Linked DNA regions of Homo sapiens: region 2 is linked to region 1. Evidence: promoter capture Hi-C in 16 types of primary human blood cells and fetal thymus (Javierre and others, 2016). All regions are on one chromosome and are shown on one strand. The core of a region is centred on a gene start or on the middle of the fragment in contact, and the rest is flanking DNA. Distances in the headings are between cores, read along the strand shown. Region 1 holds the start of MZT1 (mitotic spindle organizing protein 1). Region 2 overlaps KLF12 (KLF transcription factor 12).

Region 1 (5,293 bases), core at 187-2,686:
GCCGAGGCATGTGGATCACCTGAAGTCAGGAGTTCGAGACCAACCTGGCCAACATGGGGAAACTCCGTCTCTACTAAAAATACAAAAAATTAGCCGGGTGTTCTGGCGGGCACCTGTAATCCCAGCTACTCCAGAGGCTGAGGCAGGAGAATCGCCTGAACCCGGGAGGCGGAGGTTGCAGTGAGCCGAGGTTGCGCCATTGCACTCCACCCTGGGCAACTACAGCAAGACTGTGTCTCAAAAAAGAAAAAAAGAGCCTACGGTGAAGGAGAGAGAGATACAGCAGTGAGAATTTCATAGGGTTATCTTTTAACAGAGACGGAAGCTGACGTGAGTAGACCCTGGAAAACGTCTAGGCCCACTGCAAATAACAACATCGATCAAACACTCATAATACAGGTGGATGTGAGTAAAAAGGAGACAAAGAAAGAAGACTACAAGAGAGAGGCCATCTGAAATAATATAAAAATAATTGATCATCTTTGATATGTTTTTACATGGTTGTCTTATTTAAATATTCACAACTCCTGGAGGTAGGGTTTTATTTTACAGAAAAAAAAAAAAAAAAAACTAAACAGGCTCAATGATGTTTAAGTATCTAGTCCAAGCTCACCACAGGGGCATAAAGTGGCAGAACCGACATTAGAGGGTAGACAGAGGGTAACCGCAAGACACAAATTTCGTGTTCTGCAACACTTGTGTAGGCTTCACACACACGTGCCTCCGGGGCCGAAAACAGGCGACACCATAGCACTTGGGCACTGGTGTCACCCGCTTCAAGAGGAAACTAGGATAATTATGACCAAAGGGGAACTTGTTCATTCGCCGGATATTAAAGGTGCCTACTTAAGTGCGAAGAACAGGAGGCATAGCGGTGACCAAACACCTGGCCCCTGTCCCCGCCGGGATCCCAACCTTGGGGACCCCCGAAGCGCCCCGGGCGGGAATCGGGTGGGACGCGGCACGCAGGAGGGAACGGGTGTACTGGGTGGGGTGGGCGTGACGCTGTCACCGCAGGAGATCGGGCGGGTAGGGCGGACCTGGGATGCGGGATAGAGGGGGCGCGGCATTCGCGCGAGAGGGACGCGGTGCGCAACCGGCTGACTAGGGGCCGCAACGCCTAGCGCGCGCGACAAACTACGCAGCGGCGGAGACAACTCTCAAGGGATAGGGCCATCAGCCCTGCGGCCCTGGCAGGTCCCTACCAAAGATCTTGGAAGATGCCGTTTGGGGCACTAAGGGGACCTGAAGTCCTCCCCAGGCTCATTCCCGCCTGGGGGCCTTGGCTCTGGGAAGGCACGCAAGGTAAAGGGAGCGCAACGGAAACTCACCGTCCATGGTCTCCCGCACCGCATTCAGATTCGCCGCCGCGGCCGCCGCCGCCGCCCCAGCACCGCTGCTACTCGCCATGGCTAAGGCCGAGGGAGGCGGGAGAAGGGCCTGACCCGGAACTGGAGCGCCTTCCTCTCTCCGAGGCAATCACACAGCGCGTCTCGGCCCACGCCGGGCAGGCTCCGCCCCTCGCGCTCGCCGCCGGCGTGAGGCTGCGTTGATTTGAATTTGGAGCCACGTTCCTCTGCGCGGAACGTGGAGCGAGGAGTTGCCATTCGAATTTCCTACGCGGCCTCCGTGCGATTGGCTGGTTCGCGGATGGCGGGACGACACGATTGGCTAGTCGCTCACAAGCCCCGTGCCCTGGTTGGCCCAAGACAGCGCGGAAGCGGGGAGTTAAAGAGTCTATGCCTGTCGTGGAAGCTGGCCTGGCCCCCGGAGCTCCCTGGAGTCGGTACTGGGGGCTTCGTTTTGTACGCACCGGTAGGTACGCTCTTTGTGGTCCCTGGCCTTTCCTCCTGTCTGAATGGAGAGGTTTCTTTTCCCAGCTCCTGACTTGCCTGCCCGCTCGCCCCTGGTGAATGGGAGCAGTCAGGGAGTAGGTGTGGAAGAGAGGGGCACCAGAAAGAGTGGCCACGTAGGGTTGGGGGCGACGCCTCCTTCGCACTCCATCCAGGGAAGCCGGCTGCATCTCAACCTTCCAGAAGTAGACTCTTTTCCACCCCACCCCGCCAAGGTGTAGCCTCTGTAGCCTCCTTTGATTGCAAGTAATGCAGTCTCCCTTTCTATCCCGGGAGGGGTGGAGGGGAGGTCTTGGCGAAAGGAGGATTTTTGGAGGAAAGGGGACCCCAGGCAGTTAATTTCCTAGCCCCTGTCAATCATACTTCTCTGGCTAGGACTCATGTGCAAGAAAGGCACAAGCTTCCTCATCTCTTACCTGCTTGCTACAAAGAATTGTTTAATAGCAACTGTAGTTGGATAGGGTATCCGAAGAATGTTCATAGTGTTGAGACATGAGATGATGAATTTAAAAAAAATTGTAGCTATAAGTCCTTTAGTTGAGAAGAGATCTGGGCCTGTTGTAACCTTTAGTTTCCTCAGAGGCAGATCTGAATTCATTCATATTTGATTGCTGCGTATAAGCCACTTCACTTCTCTGAGCTTAATACTTTCGCAAAATAATATCACTAGTAAGTTACTGCTATAGCTTTCAAGGTTGTTTCGAGGATCAGTTGAGAACATTTATATGTGATACTTTTTTTGTAAGCTGTATCATAGCCCCAAGAGTGTGAGGTTTTGAGTTGTTTTTTGTGACACATTTGTCGAGTACATTTTAATAGTTAAAATTAATATCTATGGGACTTTGTAATTTTAACATGCATACTCTTGATTTCTTTTTAGTTTTCTCTCTGTGCTATGGGAGATGTCAAGGAATCAAAGATGCAAATAACACCAGAAACTCCAGGAAGGATCCCTGTTTTAAATCCTTTTGAAAGTCCTAGTGATTATTCTAATCTCCATGAACAAACTCTCGCCAGTCCTTCTGTTTTTAAATCAACAAAATTACCAGTAAGTTATTCCTGACTAGTGTTTACAACTAATTTTAAATGTAAGTAATTACAAATAATTTTAAATGTAAACATCTGTCTTTACAAGGTAAGGAGGAAATACATTATGGAGCATATATAGCTGCAATATACTTTTTTAAATTGTAGTGTTCATTATAATCTAGTGGTTAGGTTAATAAGTTAGCTAGAAGATTTTTTTTTTTTTAAGTTCAAGAACATACGTTAGCTTCCTGCAGTTGTGGGTGTAGCTACATTCTGTGGTTGACGATATAGCTACTAATACATTAGAGAAGAAGCTGCATCATCTAATATTCTGTTCTCACTTATTTGGCAAACATTATTTGAGTGTTGCTATGTGTCAGATACAGTGCTAAGCAGGGATTACACTGTGAACAAGTTAGGATCATTAGGCACAAATCCTTAAGGAGGTTATACTCCGATGTATGGGTCACAAACTTTCTGTTAGGGGCCAGACAGTAAATATTTAAGCTTTACAGGTCATTTGGTCTCTGTCACAACTACTCACTTCTGTCTTGTATCACAAAAGCAGCCATAGGCAATGTGTAAAGAGATAAATGTTACTCTGTTCCAATACAGCTTTATTTATGGACACATTTGAATTTCATATAATTTTCACATGTCACAAGATATTTTTTTGTTTGTTTTCCCAACCATTTGAAACTGTCAAAATAATTCTTAGCTTGCAATCTATTATAAAAAGAAACTAACCCCTATTTTAATGTGTTAAACAGAACTAGATGAGTAATATCAAGGCAGTGTGATAGGTGATATGATTAGTACTTAGGACAATAGTAATATGAAGGAAAAGTGTTCTTCAGGATATTAGAAAAGGCTTCATCACTTTATCTTTTTTTTTTTTTTGGTAGAGATGGGATTTCACCATGTTGGCCAGGCTGATCTCGAACTCCTGACCTCATGTGATGCACCCACTTCAGCCTCCCAAAGTGCTGGGATTACAGGCATGAGCCACCATGCCCGGGCCACTTTATCTTATTTTACTGTTATTTGCTACACTGGATAAGTTCTTTTGACCTTGGATCTTTCAACCTACCAAGTTACTTAGAAAAACTGCAAATAGGGTGGCTGTTTCTGCTACACTTTCATACAGGTTTTACAATGAGCAAGTATGTACTAGTGGAAGGTCGAGCAGTTTATATTGAGTCATTTCATCAATCTGACCTTATGATTTTTAATTGAATCATTAAAATTTATCTCTTGGTCTTACTAAAAATAAATAATAGATTGACGGCAGCTTAATCCTCAAAGTTGGAATGTATGGCATCTTGCGTTTTTAGGACTGAATTTGCCTAGAATATATTTCTAATTACAGATTAGGATTTGGATAAACCTTTAATTCAGTTGCATGGTTGAGTACAGAAAGGCAGCACTGGTTGCCATTCATAATTATTTTAAGGATCAACTATGTTGTGAGCTTTTGCAGCCACCTCCAAAGTGACTAAGGACTTTAATTTCAGTTCCTTCTTAGTGAAAGTAAAGACGTTTGTTAACTGTGAGAGATTTTTACTTTTACATGGGCTTAGTTTATCACACTGATGAGTGTTAATTGTGAAAGTTTTATATCTTTATTACTCTGTTGTGATTTTTCTCGTATTACGTAATTCCAACCCAGGTGAAAGATTCTGATATTTTAAAAGAGATACAGGCTGGGCGCTGTGGCTCATGCCTGTAATCCCAGCACTGCCAAGGTGGGCTGATGACTTGAAGTCAGGAGTTTGAGACCAGCCTGGCCAACATGGTGAAACCCCATCTCTACTAAAAAAAAAAAAAAAAAAAAAATACAAAAATTAGCTGGGTGTGGTGGCGGGTGCCTGTAATCCCAGCTACTCAGGAGGCTGAGGCAGGAGAATCGCTTGAACCGGGGAGGTGGAGGTTGCAGTGAGCTGAGATTACACCAGTGCACTCCAGCCTCGGTGACAGAACGAGACTCTGTCTTAAACAAAGAGAGAGAGAGATACAATTAAGTCAGTTGATCGAATGTGATATGATTACCCTTTGCCATTTAATTTCATGGTAAAGTCAAATTTTAAAATACAAGCTTTAAAATATTTTCATATTATAACCATTCATATTATTTCTCACATAGGTTAGCATTTTGATGAACTATTTTAGTTTGCCTTTACTCATAAGCTCACTTTCTTTTGTTAAGACTCCAGGGAAATTTAGATGGTCTATTGATCAACTAGCTGTAATAAATCCTGTAGAAATAGACCCAGAAGATATTCATCGTCAAGCTTTATACTTAAGTCATTCTCGGTAAGTTTTCCTTTCTTGCACCTAAGTCTAATAACACTCTCAAGTGAAGAGAGGTAGGAAATTCTAAATGTTGAGTATTTTTCTATGTAAAGGTATCA
Region 2 (5,044 bases), core at 1,989-4,488, 980 kb after region 1:
AGAGGTGTATGGCTTTCATATGAATTAAAATGAATATTATACAGGATTACCTACTGGGCCTCACAAATTTATCAGAGAACAGTATGTCAATTGGGGATAGAAAATATTTCCAGATTCATTTGAACAGACTATTTTTACATATTGTAATTCCTTTGCAAAAAAAATTTGATTTTATCTTTATTTTGCCTTTTAAAAAATTCATCATTAAATTGTAATATTCTGCAGAACACTGATAATGTCAGTGTCATTGTTCCATTTTAATGTCATGTCATACATACTGTTAGAGTTCTAGTTTCTCTTCAGACCCTCTTCTAGACTAGACCCAACATCTGGTTCTGGTGCACCATCTAGTGGCTGTAGGAATCACTGATGCCTGAATGTTACTTGCTTTTACTGCATTGTAGAAATTACTAGAGCATTTATTTTTTAGAAAATAGTGAGAATTCTAAAAGGCAAAACCAAATTCACAAAATTATTTTCTTCTAAAATTCAAATGCAAATCAGTTAATAAGCAATAGAACTCTTAACGTGAGGGAATCCATAGTGCATAATTGTTTTGTATAGCACATATTTAAATGACCATATTAATTTAAATGGCAATGCATACTCATTTAAGTACTAATATTTATTTGTGAATATGCATATTTATTTAAATACTCTGTAAACTGCTTCATGTACAGAGACCCACAATTTAGACAGTGGATATAAATAATTAACCTGCTGACAATAATGTGTATGTGATGGCTGAGATATATTTTTTCCTTTTTTTGACATGCCTTAAATGATTAAGCACAAGCAGGCATTAATAAACTCATTCAAAAATACTTGGTCACATCTTCGTGTTATTATCTAAACTGTACACTCATGAAAATATACTTATTTTTAATTTAGAAAGGCACTCCTCAGCATTTCTTTTTCTATTCTAAATTCTTTGCTAATATCTAGAAAATGTACCTCTTTCAAATACCTACAAATATGTTTAAGTTACTAAGTTGTAAATAAAAAGATGACTGATCAGGTACTTATATGGTACAAAAAGATGAAGCATTAAAGGCAAAATTAACTTTCTCAAAGCAAGTTTCTCACTGATACTTACTCCCCTCCCATAGCGTGCATGGCTCTCGTAAGTCAACTGGTATAATCCCAAATTCCAAATTAATTGTTGGTCACACACAAGTAACTTACTCAATATGCCTGAAGCAAAGGTAAGGCTAAGAAGATGTTTACTAAGAGCATGCAAACCAACCTGATTCCCTATAGAAATAGTTTTGATTTCATTTTGAACACTGTTACAAAATCTTATACATAATTATAAATCAGAAGTCAGGATGGGCTCATTTTGAACTAGTTACAGAAAAATCAACCAAATTTCACTTTTTTTCTTTCTAAAAATAATGTTATTTGACTGATAATAGTTCAAGGAAGCCATGACTGCACATAGTAACTATCTCTCTGCTAAGTGGATGAATGGATTTGACATATCTTGGTTTTGGGCAGGTATTTCACAAGGACATTTAGATTTAACTGTGAGGCAGAGAAATGTGAGCTGGAAACAGGAGAGCTAGGTGGATTCTGGCTACTGTTTAAAGAATTAAGACCTATCTGAATGGAGGCCTCTCGGATCATGTCTTAGGGTTTTTTCCTTGAACGCATCCCATTCAATACATTCATCAATTACCTGGCACAGATGAAGAAGCTGAAACAGACAGCAAAAATAATGAAAGCAAAGTGGGTAGGGAGAACTTTCAAGTCATTTCAATTTATTAGAATAATGGGCCCAAATCAAGAAAATGAATATAGAATAATTATTTCTTAGACTTGAAAAAGTATGTGCAACCTCAGAATAATGATTCTGTCCTGTATTTCCAGCCTGTGCCTCAACACTTTCAGTGATAGGGAACACACTACTTCCAAGCAAAGCCATCATTAAGGGACAGCTCCAACCACACATACAACATGGCATGTTTAGGTTTAAAAGAAATCTATTATAGGTACAAGGGATAGACAAGATACAGTTGTTAGCAGTTTTTGATTTAGATAACCCAATAGAGTAAACTGCTAAAAAAAACTTAACACCATTTTTGCATATACAGGCATATCTTATTTTCCTGCACTTCACTTTATTGCATTTCGAAGATATTGTCTGTGTGTGTGTGTGTGTGTGTGTGTGTGTGTGTGTGTGTGTTTACAAATTCAAGTTTTGTGGCAATCCTATGTCAGGCAAGTTTACTGGCGCCATTTTCCCAAGAGCATGTGCTCACTTTGCATCTTTGTGTGATACTTGGGTAATTGTCACAATATTTCAAACTTTTAAATTATTATTATATTTTGTATGGTGATCTGTGATCAGTGACCTTTGATGTTTCTACTGTAATTGTTTTGGGTTCGATGAACTGTACCCAAGACGGCAAACTTAATGGATAAATGTTGTGTGTGTTGTGACTGCATCACTGACCAGCTGCTACCCCATCTTACTCCCTCTTCTTGAGCCCCCCTATTCCTTGAGACACAACAATATTGAAATTAGGCCAGTTAGTAACCCTAAGTGTTCAAGTGAAAGGAAAAGTCATACATCTTTCACTTTAAATCAAAAGCTATAAATGATTATGCTTAGCGAGTCAGGCACTTCGAAAGCTGAGATGGGCTGGAAGCTAGGCCTCTTGAGCCAGTTAGCCAAGCTATGAAAGCAAAGGAAAAGTTCCAGAAGGAAATTAAAATGTTATTCCAGTTAACACACAAATGATAAGAAAGCAAAACAGCCTTATCGCTGATTTGGAGAAAGTTTGAGTGGTCTGGATAGAAGATCAAACCAGTTACAATATCCCCCAAAGCTAAAGCCTAATCCAGAGCAAGGGCCACTCTTCAGTTCTTCACGGCTGAGAGAGGTAAGAAAGCTGCAGAAGGAAAGTTGGAAGCTAGCGGAGGTTGGTTCATGAGGTTTAAGGACAGAAGCTGTCTCCATAACATATAAGTGCAAGTTGTAGCAGCAAGTGCTGATGTAGAAGCTGCAGCAAGGTATCCAGAAGATCTAGCTAAGATCACTGATGAAGGCAGCCATACTAAACTACAGATTTTCAATGTAGATGATATACCCTCCTATTGAAAGATGTCATGTAGGACTTTCTGAGCTAGAGAGGAGAAGTCAATGCCTAGCTTTAAAGCTTCAAAGGACAGATGGACTCTTGTTAGGGACTAATGGAGACAGTAACCTTCAGCTGAAGCCAAGGCTCATATACTATTCTGAAAATCCTAGGGCCCTTAAAGAATTATGCTAAATCTAATGCTAAATCTGCTTGTGCTGTATAAATGTAACAACAAAGCTTGGATTTTACAGCATGGTTTACTGAATGTTTTAAGCCCACTGTTGAGGCCTACTGCTCAGAAAAAAAGATTCCTTGAGAAATATTACTGCTCACTGACAATGCACCTGGTCACCCTAGAGCTCTGATGAGATGTACAAGGAGATGGATGTTTTTCTGCCTGCTAACACAACATGCATTCTTCAGCCCACGGATCAAGGAGTCATTTTGACTTTTAAGTCTTATCATTTAAGAAATACATTTCGTAAGACTATAGCTCCATAGCTAGTGATTCCTCTTGTGAATCCAGGCAAATTAAATTTAAAAACCCCTGGAGAGGATTCACCATTCTAGATGCCATTAGGAACATTTGTGATTCATGATAAGTCAAAAATCAACATGAACAGGAATGTGGAAGTAGTTCATTCAATCCTCATCGATGACTTTGAGGGATTCAGGGCTTCCATGGAGAAAGGAATTGCAGATGTGGTGGAAACAGCAGGAGAATTACAACTAGAAGTGGAGCCGGGCGCGGTGGCTCACGCCTGTAATCCCAGCACTTTGGGAGGCTGAGGTGGGCAGATCACCTGAGGTCGGGAGTTCGAGACCAGCCTGACCAACATGAAGAAACCCTGTCTCTACTAAAAATACAAAACTAGCCAGGCATGGTGGCACATGCCTGTAATCCCAGCTACTTGGGAGGCTGAGGCAGGAGACTCACTTGAAACTGGGAGGCGGAGGCTGAGGTAAGCCGAGATTGCGCCATTGCACTCCAGCCTGGGTAACAAGAGCGAAACTCCATGTCAAAAAAAAAAAAAAAAAAAAAAGGATTAGAAGTGGACTCAAGATGTGACTGAATTCCTGCAATCTCATGATAAAACTTGAATGAATGAGGAACTGCTTCTTACGGATGCGCAAAAAAAGTGATTCTTGAAATGGAATGTATTCCCAGTGAAGATGCTGTCAACACTGTCCAAATTACAATGAAGGATTTAGAAGATTTTATAAACTTAGTTGATAAAGCAGCATCAGAAGATTGACTGCAATTTAGAAAGAAGTTCTATGGTGGGTAAAATGTTATGAAACAGCACCACAGGCTACAGGGAAATCTTCTATGAAATAAGAGTCCACTGATGTGGCAAACTTTATTGCTGTCTTAAGAAATTTCCACATCCACTCCAACCTTTAGCAACTATCACCCTGATCAGTCAGCAGCCATCAACACAGAGGCAAGACCCTCCACTAGTCAAAAGATTACGACTCTAAAGGCTCAGATGACTGTTAGTACTTGTGAGCAATGAAGTGCTTTTTAATTATGTACTTTTTTTAGACAATGCTATTGCACACTTGAGTATAGTGTAAACACAACTTTTAAATGTAATAGGGAAACAAAAAAATTGTGTGACTTCCTTTCTTGTGATATTTACTTTATTGGGATGTCGGGAACTGAACCCACAGGATCTTTGAGGTACGCCTGTATTAAGAGAAGTCCATTCACAGGATATGTTCCCTCAATTTGTGGTATGAAAACTTAAAAAGACACAGTGATCAGTTGGAGTGTATCTACAAAGACACGGCTGAGAAAACTGGAGGTGTTTGATTTGGAGAATTAAGATGTTAGTTGGTTCATGACAGTGTTGAGAGGAACACCGGGGCCAGTGAGTGAAAATTATAGCATTATCATTAGAGCCATTCTGTTCAACCAGAAGGTTCCAAGACCTAAACAGCACCGTAAGAGGCTACTG

Evidence for each region. Contacts are between HindIII fragments. The CHiCAGO score rates a contact against its expected background, and 5 or more counts as called.
Region 2: a fragment that was not itself captured here is called in contact with the fragment with the promoter of MZT1 in region 1 in 2 of 17 cell types (activated CD4 T cells and fetal thymus); the score reaches 6.4 in activated CD4 T cells.

Annotation. Positions count from the first base shown.
Region 1 is chr13:72,726,193-72,731,485 of GRCh38, forward strand. MZT1 (mitotic spindle organizing protein 1) reads right to left here and starts at 1,437. Exons shown (of 3, transcript NM_001071775.3): 1 at 1,332-1,437. The coding sequence starts at 1,410. It overlaps BORA (BORA aurora kinase A activator), which reads left to right and starts at 1,731. Exons shown (of 12, transcript NM_024808.5): 1 at 1,731-1,815; 2 at 2,734-2,901; 3 at 5,089-5,195. The coding sequence starts at 2,749. RefSeq lists silencers at 883-942, 898-1,079, 1,603-1,752 and enhancers at 1,173-1,242, 1,963-2,012. The HindIII fragment of the contact is 9,444 bases long and covers 1-2,251 here.
Region 2 is chr13:73,708,235-73,713,278 of GRCh38, forward strand. All of the region lies in intron 7 of KLF12 (KLF transcription factor 12), which reads right to left. Among named protein-coding and RNA genes, the nearest start is that of LINC00393, 49 kb to the left of the region's middle. The HindIII fragment of the contact is 159 bases long and covers 3,160-3,318 here.